3 separate regions of the Homo sapiens genome follow, and regions 2 and 3 are each linked to region 1. The links are contacts of gene promoters, found by promoter capture Hi-C in human tissues and cell types (Jung and others, 2019). All regions are on one chromosome and are shown on one strand. The core of a region is centred on a gene start or on the middle of the fragment in contact, and the rest is flanking DNA. Distances in the headings are between cores, read along the strand shown. Region 1 holds the start of DNAJB7 (DnaJ heat shock protein family (Hsp40) member B7). Region 2 overlaps RANGAP1 (Ran GTPase activating protein 1). Region 3 overlaps MRTFA (myocardin related transcription factor A).

Evidence for each region. Contacts are between HindIII fragments. The study calls those that stand out against the background at their distance.
Region 2: a fragment that was not itself captured here is called in contact with the fragment with the promoter of DNAJB7 in region 1 in 1 of the 25 tissues and cell types used here (dorsolateral prefrontal cortex).
Region 3: a contact is called between a fragment that was not itself captured here and the fragment with the promoter of DNAJB7 in region 1, in 1 of the 25 tissues and cell types used here (dorsolateral prefrontal cortex).

Annotation. Positions count from the first base shown.
Region 1 is chr22:40,860,863-40,865,497 of GRCh38, reverse strand. It overlaps DNAJB7 (DnaJ heat shock protein family (Hsp40) member B7), which reads left to right and starts at 3,385. Exons shown (of 1, transcript NM_145174.2): 1 at 3,385-4,635. The coding sequence starts at 3,504. The coding sequence ends at 4,433. All of the region lies in intron 1 of XPNPEP3 (X-prolyl aminopeptidase 3), which reads right to left. The HindIII fragment of the contact is 4,259 bases long and covers 1,014-4,635 here.
Region 2 is chr22:41,262,480-41,267,114 of GRCh38, reverse strand. RANGAP1 (Ran GTPase activating protein 1) reads left to right here. Exons shown (of 16, transcript NM_002883.4): 5 at 2,272-2,451. Among named protein-coding and RNA genes, the nearest start is that of MIR6889, 12 kb to the right of the region's middle. RefSeq lists an enhancer at 2,120-2,995. The HindIII fragment of the contact is 7,310 bases long and covers 1-4,635 here.
Region 3 is chr22:40,583,848-40,588,482 of GRCh38, reverse strand. All of the region lies in intron 2 of MRTFA (myocardin related transcription factor A), which reads left to right. It also overlaps the pseudogene RPL4P6. Among named protein-coding and RNA genes, the nearest start is that of MRTFA, 51 kb to the left of the region's middle. The HindIII fragment of the contact is 5,364 bases long and covers 155-4,635 here.

The DNA.
Region 1 (4,635 bases), core at 2,136-4,635:
AATTAGCCAGGCATGGTGGCACATGCCTGTAATCCCAGCTACTCGGGAGGCTGAAGCAGGAGAATGGCTTGAACCTGGGAAGTAGAGGTTGCAGTGAGCCGAGATCACACCACTGTACTCTAGCCTGGGCAACGAGAGTGAAACTCCATCTCAAAAAAAAAAAAAAAAAAAAGTGAGGAGGGCTCACAGTGTGGCAAGTGCTTCAAAATACAAGGAAGCCAAAAGGACAACCACTGGATATGGTAACATCAATCACTGGAGACCCTGGCGATTTTAGCAGAGTAAAGAAGACAGAAGACAGATTGGAGTATGCCAAGGAGGGAATAGGATGTAAGAAAGCAAAGACACTGAGACAATACTCTGGATAAGTTTTGTTGTGAAGAGGCAGAGAAAATGGCACAGCGGATGGCTGGGAGGCAAAGGATCAACAAAGAAGGGTATAACTGCAGAAACAAGTGCTCGTATTATAACTTTACACTCCACTGAAATTAGTTTTTTCAAACTATATGAATTTCTTAAGAGCAGAATTTCCTATTTTCTACCTTTTCTCTGTATCATAGTGTCAGAGGCGTTTGAACCAGAGCAACTCCATCTTCAGTAGGGGTTTGGTAAAATAAGGCTAAGACCTACTGGGCTACATTCCCAGTAAGTTAAGGCAGTCTTAATCACAGAATGAAATAGGAAGTCAGCACAAAATGCAGGACACAAAAACCCTGCTAATAAAACAGGTAGGTTATAGTAAAGAAGCTGACCAGCTGGGTGCGGTGGCTCATGCCTGTAATCCCAGCGCTTTGGGAGGCTGAGGCGGGCAGATCACCTGAGGTTGGGAGTTCGAGATCAGCCTGACCAACATGGAGAAACCCCCTCTCTACTAAAAATACAAAATTAGCCGGGCGTGGTGGTGCATGCCTGTAATCCCAGCTACTCAGCGGGCTGAGGCAGGAGAATGGCTTGAACCCGGGAGGTAGATGTTGCAGTGAGCCAAGACCCCACCATTGCACTCCAGCCTGGGCAATAAGAGCGAAACTCCACCTCAAATAATAATAATAGTAACAATAATAATGAAAATAAAATAAGTCCCTGTCAAATTTAGACACTGCGAACATCTTCTCCTAGACTGTCACCTTCCTGTGAGCTTTACCTGTGATGTTCTTAAAAAAAGGAGCTGGCCAAACCCCACTAAAACTAAGATGGCAATGACAGTAACCTCTGATTGTCCTCACTGCTACACTCCCACCAGCACCCCAAGAGTTTACAGATGCCATGGCAACGTCAGGAAGTTACCCTATATGGTCTGAAATGGGGAAGCATGAATAATCCACTTCCTGTTTAGGATATAATCAAGAAATAACCATAAAAATGGGCAACCAGCAGCCCTTGGGGCTGCTCTGCCTATGGAGTAGCCATTCTTTATTCCTTTACTTTCTTAATAAACTTGCTTTTACTTTACTCTGTGGATTCCACTGAAATTCTTTCTTGCACGAGATCCAAGAACCATCTCTTGGGGTCTGGATTGGGACCCCTTTCCGGTAACAGCAGGTTCTCAGTATCTGTTTGTGGAATGCCTAGAACCTAAACTCTTTAAGTCCTAGTCCGAGAAATGCAGTAGAGTGGAATGAGAACTTGAAATTAGACTCAAGTTTAAAAATCAGATTTTTCACTAACAAGCTATGTAGCCTTAGACAAATTACTTTCTCTCTCAGAACGTCTGTTTTCTTATGGGCATAAAATATTTATTTTGCTAGAGTGCTGTGTCAGTTAAATGAGCACTTGCTACAGTGTGACTCAGAGGGTACTCAAATAATTTTCGACATTATTGGTTATTATTTCCAGTGGTAGGCAAATTATAATCATGGGTAAGCCACACATAAGTACATGTAAGCACATACACTGGAGAGAATTTAAATTGAGTTTTAAGCATTTCACAATACCTCTAAAAAATGAGTATATATAAAAATGCAAAGCAAAAAAATATTCAGACCTGACAAATGGTCTTGAAAGACTAGAAGCATACACTACAGTTTTAGATTTCATTAGCGTATCATTTAACTGAGGGGTTATAAATGTGATGGAAAATAAAATAAACACAACATAGAGGAGGAAAAACAAAGATTACAGGGAATTTTCTCAGACAATAAAATGAGCCAGGTATAGAATATAAGACCTTTAAATTCGGGTCTAGACTACTGGTAGTTTATCCCCAAAGAAAATCACCTTTGGTCTGTTTCTAATTTGGCTCTCGAATTCTACTTTCCCATACATGACTGAATTTCCAAATAGTAGCCACTGATCCATTACAAATGTAAATCACATCATTAAACTTGCATATTCCCCACTCCCCACAAAGGCTTCCCACTGTACTTGAAATAAGTGCTAGCTTTATGTCCAACAGCCCCAACTGGCAACAACCAAAATGTCCATCAACATGGCCAGTGGCTACCATATTAGATCACTATGTGGCTGACTGTCATATAGGTCTCAGCAATAATGTCATCTCCTCAGAAGCCTTCTAAAACCAATCTAAAGTAGCGCTCTGCCCCCAGCACATTGCTATTTTTTTTGGAGCACATATCGCATTATCTTAAATTATTTTATTTGTTCTCCTATTTGTATTCTATTATAATGCAAGCACCAGGAAAACTGGTGTCTTTTGTTCAATACTGCTATCACCAGTGGCTAAAACGGTGCCTGGCACAAAGTAGACAATCAATAATTATACAGTGAATACATAAACACACAACTTTCCAAATCTTTAATTACATGTTTTACAGCAGTAAACCTTGGGTGGACAAAGATACTATAATCTCAAATGACTTACCACTGGCATGCAGAAAGTTAACATATCAGGCTACTTCCTCCAAGAGGCTTTCATTGACACCCCCAGCCTGAGCTGTCTCTCATATAATTGTTTAGCATCCAGTACTTCCTCTCATCATAACTATTATATTGTAACTAAGTTACTTGTTTGTATCTCCCTCTGAACTGTTTCTTGACTGAAATAAATATGTCAACTGTTTGAATACTTTCTTCACCCGTAAGTCAGTACTTCATTTTTCTAAACCAAAGCATAGAAGAGCTGGGAAGCAATTAAGGCGCAGTAATCTAGAGGTCATATTATGCAAGGGATATGCTGTGGCTATTAGCAACAGATTCCATTGGCTTATGAGGCACTGCCTGAAGCTTCCAGGGAAACATACAGGGGAAACAGTCCAGAGGATTCAGGATGGTCTGGTACGACTCTGGACTAGCTCTATTTGGAAGGTCCAGTCCCTACACTGACCCCAGAATGACACCATAATGCAGCCCTCTCTGACATATTTGTAACTCTGCTTGCCACATAATCAGTATCCTCATCTCTTAGCACATGGTAATAACATTGTCTTTAACATAAAAGTGTACCTATTTGCAGTCACTACCTCTATCACCACCACCAGCAGAGCCTGAGCTGAGGAAACCACGGTTCTCAATACCCAGCACACCCACTTCCAACTATCTGTTAAAACATGGTGGATTACTATGAAGTTCTAGGACTGCAAAGATATGCTTCACCTGAGGACATTAAAAAAGCTTATCATAAAGTGGCACTTAAATGGCACCCTGATAAAAATCCAGAAAATAAAGAAGAAGCAGAGAGAAAATTCAAAGAAGTAGCTGAGGCATACGAGGTATTATCAAATGATGAGAAACGGGACATTTATGATAAATATGGCACAGAAGGATTAAACGGAGGTGGAAGTCATTTTGATGATGAATGTGAGTACGGCTTCACATTCCATAAGCCAGATGATGTTTTTAAAGAAATTTTTCATGAAAGGGATCCATTTTCTTTTCACTTCTTTGAAGACTCGCTTGAGGACCTGTTAAATCGTCCAGGAAGCTCCTATGGAAACAGAAACAGAGATGCAGGATACTTTTTCTCCACTGCCAGTGAATATCCAATTTTTGAGAAATTTTCTTCATATGATACAGGATATACATCACAGGGTTCATTGGGGCATGAAGGCCTTACTTCTTTCTCTTCCCTGGCTTTTGATAATAGTGGGATGGACAACTACATATCTGTTACAACTTCAGACAAAATCGTTAATGGCAGAAATATTAATACAAAGAAAATTATTGAAAGTGATCAAGAAAGAGAAGCTGAAGATAATGGAGAGTTGACATTTTTTCTTGTAAATAGTGTGGCCAATGAAGAGGGCTTTGCAAAAGAATGCAGCTGGAGAACACAGTCATTCAACAACTATTCACCAAATTCTCACAGCTCCAAACATGTATCTCAATATACTTTCGTGGACAATGATGAGGGAGGTATATCTTGGGTTACCAGCAACAGAGATCCCCCTATTTTCTCAGCAGGAGTCAAAGAGGGTGGTAAGAGGAAAAAAAAGAAGCGTAAAGAGGTGCAAAAGAAGTCTACCAAAAGGAATTGTTAAATTGACTCTTCAAATATATAACATTTGAACACAATTGTGTGTGTTTTGGTTAATCACAAATTTTGTAGATAACACTTAATACTATACTAAGAGCTTTTCAACACTTTTAGCAGGATTGTGGACATTTGGTTAGTAGTTTTTTTGAATGGGTATGTCAGAAAAGGATGAGTTTGTGGTGACAGTTGGTGCTAATAAGAATTTG
Region 2 (4,635 bases), core at 1,516-4,015, 400 kb before region 1:
TTGAGGTCAGGAGTTCAAGTCCAGCCTGGCCAACATGGCAAAACCCCGTCTTACTAAAAATACAAAAATTAGCTGGCATGGTGGCACCTGCCTGTAGTCCCAGCTACTTGGGAGGCTGAGGCAGGAGAATTGCGTGAACCCAGGAGGTGGAGGTTGCAGTGAGCCAAGATCATGCCACTGCACTCCAACCTGGGTGACAAAGCAAGACTCCGTCTCAAAAAAAAAAGGAAATTCATTTCAGTGATTGCATGTTAAAGAATTTCAAGTTAGGCCAGGCGCAGTGGCTCACGCCTGTAATCCCAGCATTTTGGGAGGCCAAGGTGGGGGGCGGTGCACGTGGATCACCTGAGGTCAGGAGTTGGAGACCAGCCTGGCCAACATGCTGAAACCCTGTGTCTACAAAAGTACAAAAATTAGCTGGGCGTGATGGCAGGGGCCTTGTAATCCCAGCTACTCAGGATGCTGAGGCGGAAGAATCACTTGAACCTGGGAGGTGAAGGTTGCAGTGAGCTGAGATTGTGCCATTGCATTGCAACCTTGGGTGAGAGAAAGCGAGACTCCATCTCAAAAAAAAAGAATTTCAAGTCAGAAAAGATGGTGAAGAGAACTCTCTTTTGCATACTCACTGTGGAATTCTCACTGTGCAAGTTTTGCCTAAATTTTAGCATTTCATTTCCCTGAGCTTTCAGAAGGTATTCTTTTGGTTTTTGTTTTCTTTTACTTGACTCTGTAGGAATGGGGAAGAGAAAGTATTCTTATCTCTATGTTCCCAATCGTGAGAATAAATCTTAAGAGGGGGATAAGAGAATTTGGGGTTAGAAGATGGCATGTGGTGGAGTAGGCACAGGGTGTTTGAGCAGCTAGAGGTCAGTTGAGGCCAGATCGCCAGGGGCTAGGCTTTTTTTTTTTTTTTGAGGCGGAGTCTCACTCTGTTTCCCAGGCTGGAGTGCAGTGGCACGATCTCGGCTCACTGCAAGCTCCGCCTCCCGGGTTCATGCCATTCTCCTGCCTCAGCCTCCCAAGTAGCTGGGACTACAGGCGCCCGCCACCATGCCCGGCTAATTTTTTGTATTTTTAGTAGAGATGGGGTTTCACTGTGTTAGCCAGGATGGTCTCGATCTCCCGACCTCGTGATCCGCCCACCTTGGCCTCCCAAAGTGCTGGGATTACAGGCGTGAGCCACCGCACCCAGCCACCAGGGGCTAGGCTTTCTGTGGGTAGGGCAACGAGAGGACACATTGCCTTTTGCTTACTGAGTGGTGGGAGGATGGTAGAAACTGCCTCATCTGCCATATCTGTGGCCAGGGTGAGGGCAGAAAGTCTCCCTTCCACATTCCTGCCCCCATGGACCACCTGCTCAGCCCCATTTCTGACCCAGTCTCTGGCAGAGCCTCCTCTCTGACCATTTCTCCTGGTGGGGTGAGGGAATGTAGCTCTCCCCAGCCCAGGAGGTTTCCAGGAGAGCTTCAAATCACCCTGTCAAAGCTGATCCTGGCCGTGGCTTAGAGATGGCCACCTCCATCTGCCAGTCACCACCAGAAACCCTGGAGGCATTTGTGGTTCCTCCCTCCCTCCTCCTGCACGAACAGGGAACCAACAGCTTCTGCATGTCCCCTGCTCCATGAACAGGCAGCTCCTCTCCCACACTTGTCACACCGGCTGGCAGGTCCCCTCTGTTGCCAGTGTCGCTGCCTCACACTCCTGGGTGGGCACTCCAGCCCCCCTTTCTGTGCATCTGCTCACCTCAGGTCTGGGGATATTAATTCCATATCCCTCAGCCACCTCAAAGCCCACTGCTCTCAGGCTGAGGCTCACAGTCCTTGGCCTGGCATTCAAGGCTCTTGCCTGATCTGACCCCTCACTTCCCTTCCACCCAAAGCCCATGCCACGGCTTCTTCTGGAGCCTACCCACAGCTTTCCTCCAGGCTCACAGCCTGCTGCTTCATGCTTATGTCTCTCTGCTCCTGTTTTTTCAGCTGCCTGGAGTCTTTTCATGTTGACTAGCTGATTCTCATCCAGACTAAGTCCAAATGCCACCTCTTACAAGGAGCCTTCCCGGGCCACTCCAGGCATACGCATCCCCCACTCTCCAGCTGTTAGGAGCCCTTTGCAGGGTTTCCAGTCTTAAGAATACTGAAATGGTTTGTGTCTGTGTTGGTTCTGCACCAGCCGGGGTGTCCTTGGAAGGCAGAGCTGGGCCTGGCACAGAAGCAGCACCCAGCACAGAAGCTGGGTGTCTATGAAACTGACACGAGCTTCCTCTGTGCCCAGATCTCACTAGGGGAAGGACTCATCACAGCTGGGGCTCAGCTGGTGGAGCTGGACTTAAGCGACAACGCATTCGGGCCCGACGGTGTGCAAGGCTTCGAGGCCCTGCTCAAGAGCTCAGCCTGCTTCACCCTGCAGGAACTCAAGCTCAACAACTGTGGCATGGGCATTGGCGGCGGCAAGGTGGGTGTGGCAGCCCCCTCCCCGCAGAGTCCCCTGGTCCATCCACATCCGTCTGACATATGTGCCCTGGCCCTTGGCCACCACCATCTGGGATGGTCAGCCGTTGTTTTCAAAAGAGAAAGGCCTCAAAGGCAACAGCCTGTGGCCGGAGGGTAGAGGCGTCCATGAGGGTGGGGTTGCCAAGCAACCATCCCCAGTTCTTGGGTTGGCTTGGCAACGCAGAGGGAGTGCCACTGCATACCTGCTCCAGCCTGCTGGCTCTGCAAAACTCAGGGCTTGGGGCATCCCTATACTCACTGTACCCGCAGAGCAGCTGGTAGAGCCTGGCACATAGGCAGAGGGAGTCTGAAAAGAGGAGCATATGCTCAGGGGGGGCACCGTCACAGCTCACCTTTATTCCTAGACAGGGCCTTGCCCAGGGAGGTGTCCTCAGGCAAGGTCAGTGTAGAGCTTCACGTTGGGCTGGTCAGTGTAGAGTGGAGCTTCTTTGCTTCCCAGAACCTGCATCAAGGGCGGCCTGCCGTATTATTCTCTTCCAACTCCATCCCAGTGCCTTTAGACCCAGGGTTGGAGGACACTGAGTGCCAGGCTGCAACCCCTACACACACTTTCTAACCAAAGGGAGAAAAGGGCTGGGGACACAGAAGTAACAGCAGTTGGGGATATCTTATTTGAATATGCAATACCTTAACTTTTCCCACCCACACTGAAAGGTGGCTGATGCCATCCCAGTTTTTCCACATGACTCAGCATAGGCTTAGAGAGATGGGGTGGAGTGGATCACATAGCTAGTGCTGTGAGGCCCATGGAGCCCCAGGCTGAGGAGCTGGAGTGGCCTCCCCTGCAGAGGGTGCCTGTGTCCCTCGGCCTGACGTGAGGGTGAGCAGGGGCAGGCTCTGTGCCTGCCTTAGCCAGCCCTCCCCCAAGTCCACTTGGGCAATAAGCTATCCCTGTGTTAAGATGTAAAAATGGGCCGGGCACGGTGGTGCAGTGGCTCATGCCTGTAATCCCAGCACTTTGGGAGGCCGAGTCGGGCAGATCACCTGAGGTCAGGCGTTCGAGACCAGCCTGGCCAACATGGTGAAACCCCATCTCTACTAAAAATACAAAAATTAGCTGGGTGTGGTGGCAGGTGCCTGTAGTCCCAGCTATTCGGGAGGCTGAGGCAGGAGAATTGCTCGAACCCGGGAGGTGGAGGTTGCAGTGAGCCGAGATGGCGCCACTGCACTCCAGCCTGGGCAACAAGAGCAAAACTCCGTCTCAAAAAAACAAACAAACAAACAAACAAACAGAAACATATAAAAACGTTTGCGTCAGCACAGAAAGCAGGCGTGGCCCAACCTAGAGTGAGTGGCATACGCTGGGAGAGCCAGAGACTCTATTCTAGCAAAATGCTTCGGTTTTCCTTCCATTACTTCCCTTCTCCTGCCCAGCAGTGCCTGGAAACTGAGGCTCAGGGAGCTTTCCTACTGGCCAGGAGTTGTCTGGCCTGTCCTATACTTGTAATGGGGTGAGTTGGGGAATGAGTTTTGGACCCAGGACCAGAGGGCCTCCTGGGCAGACAGGCCTACCCTGGAGTTTGATTGATGGTTCTCTGTGCCTCCCTGACCACTGATTTGATTAGGTCTCTGGGTCTCGGCCTTGCTGACCTATGCCTCTTGGGAGCTCAGACGCCATGGTCTGGGTGTCTAACCAAGGCCTGCAGGTCCTTTGGAATCTTTTTCTTCTGGGCAGTGTGTTTAGTGTGGTTTCTGTGCCATGCACCATGAGAATAGAAGGGCCCAGAGGAGTTGGTGGGGCAAGAGGCATGGCCCTGTGCTTGAGAACTCTCCATACCCAAGTTGGACTCCTGCAGGAGCTAAGGCCATCACCACGTGGCCTCCAGGGAATCTGGGAGAATGGGGGTGACCTAGCAGTCGGCTGCTGCTGCTGAGTAGCTTCCTCAGAGGCTGGTCTTTGGCAGAAGTTTGATGTCTCTACCCTGAGTGTGTGCGTGATCGTGTGTGCGTGATCCACCATCACCACCGTGGAGTCAGGCAGGTGCTGGCTCTTCTGTTCCTCAAGGATGGCTGTGTGCAGTCTCATGCCAGGAGTTAGGCCAACCCACCCGCCATGTGCGGCTTTGCTAAATACTTACCGGGTGACCTTGGCCAATTCACTCATCTCTCAGAGCCTCAGCTTCCT
Region 3 (4,635 bases), core at 1,587-4,086, 280 kb after region 1:
AAGTGACTGTGGGTGGGAGATGCATCACTGGCATTTGGTGGAGAAAACTCAGAATTGTTCACCCAAAATGCCAATAGCGTCACTGTTGTGAAATTAAGCTAAATACTTTGGTAAATCAGTAGATAATGTTTTATCTTAGTTACAAAAAAAAGTTGAGGCTGGGCGCGGTGGCTCACACCTGTAATCCCAGCACTTTGGAAGGCCGAGGCAGGTGGATCACAAGGTCAGGAGTTAGAGATCAGCCTGACCAACATGGTGAAACCTCATCTATACTAAAAATACAAAAATTATCTGGGCGTGGTGGCGCGTGCCTGTAATCCTAGCTACTCAGGAGGCTGAGGCGGGAGAATCGCTTGAACCTGGGAGGCGGAGGTTGCAGTGAGCCGAGACTGCGCCACTGCACTCCAGCCTGGGCGACAGAGCGAGACTCTGTCTCCAAAAAAAAAAAAAAAAAATGTTGGAGTGTGGCCTTCTCACCTTCCCATGGATGTGCTGATCCACTGTTATCAGTGTACTCTGAAAAAGGGGAGTCATCTGGCAAAAATGTCACTTTGTCTCCTGTATTCAAGGCTCCCATTCCACCAGATATTGTGAACTTTGTTCACACCAACTTGCACAAAAACAACAGACAGCCCTATCTTGTTAGTGAATTAGCAGGTCGTCAGACCAGTGCTGAATCTTGGGGTACTGGCAGAGTTGGGTCTCAAATTCCCAGAGTTTGAGGTGGTGGGACTCACTCTTTTGGCCAGGGTGCTTTTGGAAATATCTGTCATGGAGGCCACATGTTTGCACCAACCAAAACCTGGCACTGTTGGCACTGTAGAGTGAACACAATCCAAAAAACAATATGCTATCTGTTCTCCCCTGGCTGCCTCTGCCTTACCAGTGCTGGTCATGTCTACAGGTCATCATATTAAGGAAGTTCCTGAACTTTTTTTGGTGGTCAGAGATAAAGTTGAAGGCTACAAGACAATCAAGGAGGCTGTTTTGCCACTTAAGCCTGGAGTGATACAAAAAAGGGCTATGCCTCTCAGCAAATGAGAGCTGGCAAGGGCAAAATGAGAAACCATCGTATCCAGCGCAAGGGACCCTGCATCGTCTCTAATGAAGATGATTGTATTGTCAAAGCCTTCCGAAACATTCCTAGAATTATTCTGCTTAATGTAAGCAAACTGAACATTTTGAAACTTGCTCCTGATGGGCATGTGGGACATTTCTGCATTTGGACTGAAAGTGCTTTCTAGAAGTTAGACAATTGTGTGGCACTTGGTGTAAAGCTGTTTCCTCAAGAGTAACTGCAATCTTTGCATGCACAAGATGATCAATACAGACCTTAGCAGAATCTTGAAAAGCCCAGACATCCAAAGCCCTTCAAGCACGTTGCAGGAAGATTCATCGTAGAGTCCTGGGGACAAACCTCCTGGAAAACCTGAAAATCATGTTGAAGCTAAACCCATATGCAAAGACCATGCTCTGCAACACCAGGCTTTGCCAGGCCAGCAACCACAAACTCCAGGTGGATAAGGCAGCGGCGGCGGTGGCAGCAGCAGCAGCAGCACCAGCACCAGCACCAGCAGCACCAGCAGCACCAGCAGCACTAGAGGCCAAATCAGATGAGAAAGGGGGTTGCAGTCAAGAAGCCTGTGGTAGGGAAGAAAGGAAAGAAGGTTGTTGTTTTTAAGCAGGAGAAACCTCTGGTGGGAAAAAGGGCAGCAGCTACCAACCAAGACATCAGTAGCTGAAAAAAAAACCTACCACAGAGGAAACGAAGCCTGCTGCATGAGCTTGTTGGTTTATTCCATAAAGGTCAAATAATTTTGGACAGCTTATTTTTAATAAAGACCTGATCAGTGAAAAAAACAGTGATTGCTCATGGCAGGAAGCTTTTTGAACAAATCCTTCAGAGCTTTAGTATGTAATCTCTGAATTATTCCAGGGGAATTAGGCCATATTTTCTCAGTTGGGAGAGTAAGGTATTTTCCTGAAGATTCTGAGGGCGTTTGCCATTATGAATGTGTTTTGGTAGGGTTTAACTTCTAAAATTAAGAGTAGTTGAATGGCTAGAGTGGTTTAGTGGTTAAAGAAGATTGGCATTATTCCTTTAGTAATCTTTGTATCTTCATGGTTGATGGAAATAATACAATTTGTGCTTCGCATTCCAGTGATGCCTGGTTATTGTTTGTACTGTTCTTTCTTTCCTTCTTTTTTTTTTTTTTGAAGAGCAAATGATGTATTTGTTTGGCAGATCAATAAGATTTTATTAGGTATGTAATTCAACTTGTTGTAGCTTGTTTCACTTGAGCCTAGTAAGGACTTTGATGGAGATAAAAAAAAATAATTACTCTCAACTTCCACCTACCATTTTATCAGTCTCTAGGGCAATGTTTCTCAACATTTTTGGCTGTGGTTCATCGTTCAAGATGTATTTTACATTCAGACCCAATACACACGTAAGTATATCGATATCTAAAACAAAAGTTTCATGAAATAATACTTACCCTTATTAGGTGCAGTGCAATCTGCTCGTTTCTATTTTATTCCATTTTATTTAATTGCAAGATGTTGATGTTGGCCTAGGAAATTGATTCTGTGACCTGTGTATTATGAATTGCAGTTAAAAATACTGTGTTAGGATATATGTTCATGAAATTTTAACTCAGGCTTTAAAATATATCCCAAGTCTTACTATATCTCTCTGCTCAACTATTGCCCTTGGCTAAGCCACCTTCATCTCTCTCCTAGACTTCTCCAGTAGCCTCCTAATTGCATTCTCTGCTAACTCTCATCCCCTGCCATCACCTAGCTCTGTTCTTTTAGCTGTCTAATTGATGCTTTTAAAATGTTATTCTGGTCATGTTGTCTTCACTATTACTTTCTTTCCCCCACTTTCATTTATTGTGTTAAAATACACATGAAATTTACCATCTTAATCATTTTAAGTATATAGTTCAGTGGTATTATATACATTCATAATGTTATGCAACTGTCATCACCATCCATCTCCAGAACTCTTTTCAGCTTGTGAAACGGAAACTCTACACCCATTAAACAAATAAGTCCCTATTCCCTCCTCCTCCTTCCCCCTGGAAACTACCCTTCTACTTTGTGTCTATGATTTTGACCTCTCTAGGTACCTCATATAAGTGGAATCATACAGCATATATAACTTTTTGTTATAAATTTAGCCTATGTGATTTTTAAAAAAGTTTATATAATGTTTTACATACAAGTTAAAAATTAAAGTAGTAATCATCGACCTCAGACATCTAGAACAAGTTACACCATGGAGCCTTCCTGCTCAGCAGCATTGAGGCCTGGACTGCCTTGTTTCCTCTTCCCTTCAGATCGGCAGAAGTGATGACTTCTCTGGACTTGTAATATTTTTGTTCTTTGGTAAGTGAATATGAGGAGAGACTTGACTTTTTTGTTTTCTTTTTGAGACCGAGTCTTGTTCTTTTGCCTAGGCTGGAAGTGCAGTGGTGCGATCTTGGCTCACTGCAACCTCCACCTCCCAGGTTCAAGCGATCCTACCACCGCAGACTCTCAGGTAGCTGGGACTACAGGCGTGCGCCACCACGCCCAGCTAATTTTTTGTATTTTTAGTAGAGATGGGGTTTCACTATGTTGGCTAGGCCGGTCCTAAACTCCTGACCTCAAGTGATCCACCCCCCTCAGCCTCCCAAAGTGCTGGGATTAAGGCTTGAGCCACTGTGCCCAGCTCAAGAGACTTGGCTTTTTTTTTTTTTTTTTTTGAGACAGAGTCTCACTCTTGTTGCCCAGGTTGGAGTGCAATGGTGCGATTTTGGCTCACCACAACCTCTGCCTCCTGGGTGATTCTCCTGCTACGGTCTCCCGAGTAGCTGGGATTACAGGCATGTGCCACCACACCCGGCTAATTTTGCATTTTTAGTAGAGACAGGTTTTCTCCATGTTGGTCAAGCTGGTCTCAAACTCCCAACCTCAGGTGATCCTCCTGCCTCAGCCTCCCAAAGTGCTGGGATTATAGGCGCAAGCCACCACGCCTGCCTGAGACTTAGCATTTTGAAAGACAAGATAACGTGCTGAGCCAGACAGCTCAGAATCCTCCGCATCTATTTTATTATTGGCTTTTGGAAAAGGCACTATGGTTGTATGTATGGAAAGGCTGACTTGGGAGTCATGATGTCTGGGTTTTCCTGGCTTTGCCACTTACTTATTTGGAGACCTTGGGCAAATTGCTTACAACCCTTCTGAGCTTTAGTTTCTTAGCATCGGAAACCATTGGACACTTTAGATTTCTTCAAATCCTAAAATTCAGAAATTCTATCATGTTTTTGACAAGGTTTTGAGACCTTACAAGAGTCTGTTTTTCTGTTCTGCCATCCTGATTTTTTTCCCATCTACTGTAATCTGAATGCTTAGAAGAAGGACAGTAAATTTTAATCTGTCACACTCGATTATTGTGATGAAATAATCCCAGAATTGTGATTATAAAATAGTCTGGACATACAAAGTACTATGCAGATGACAAATACTATATATACCACATGGGGATGAAAACTGGAGATGAGCACCTCGTCCTGTGCACTTTCTGTGAACTGCTCTGTGCTTATGATCTTATGATCCACCTAGAGTAGTGGTCTCCAACATTTTTGG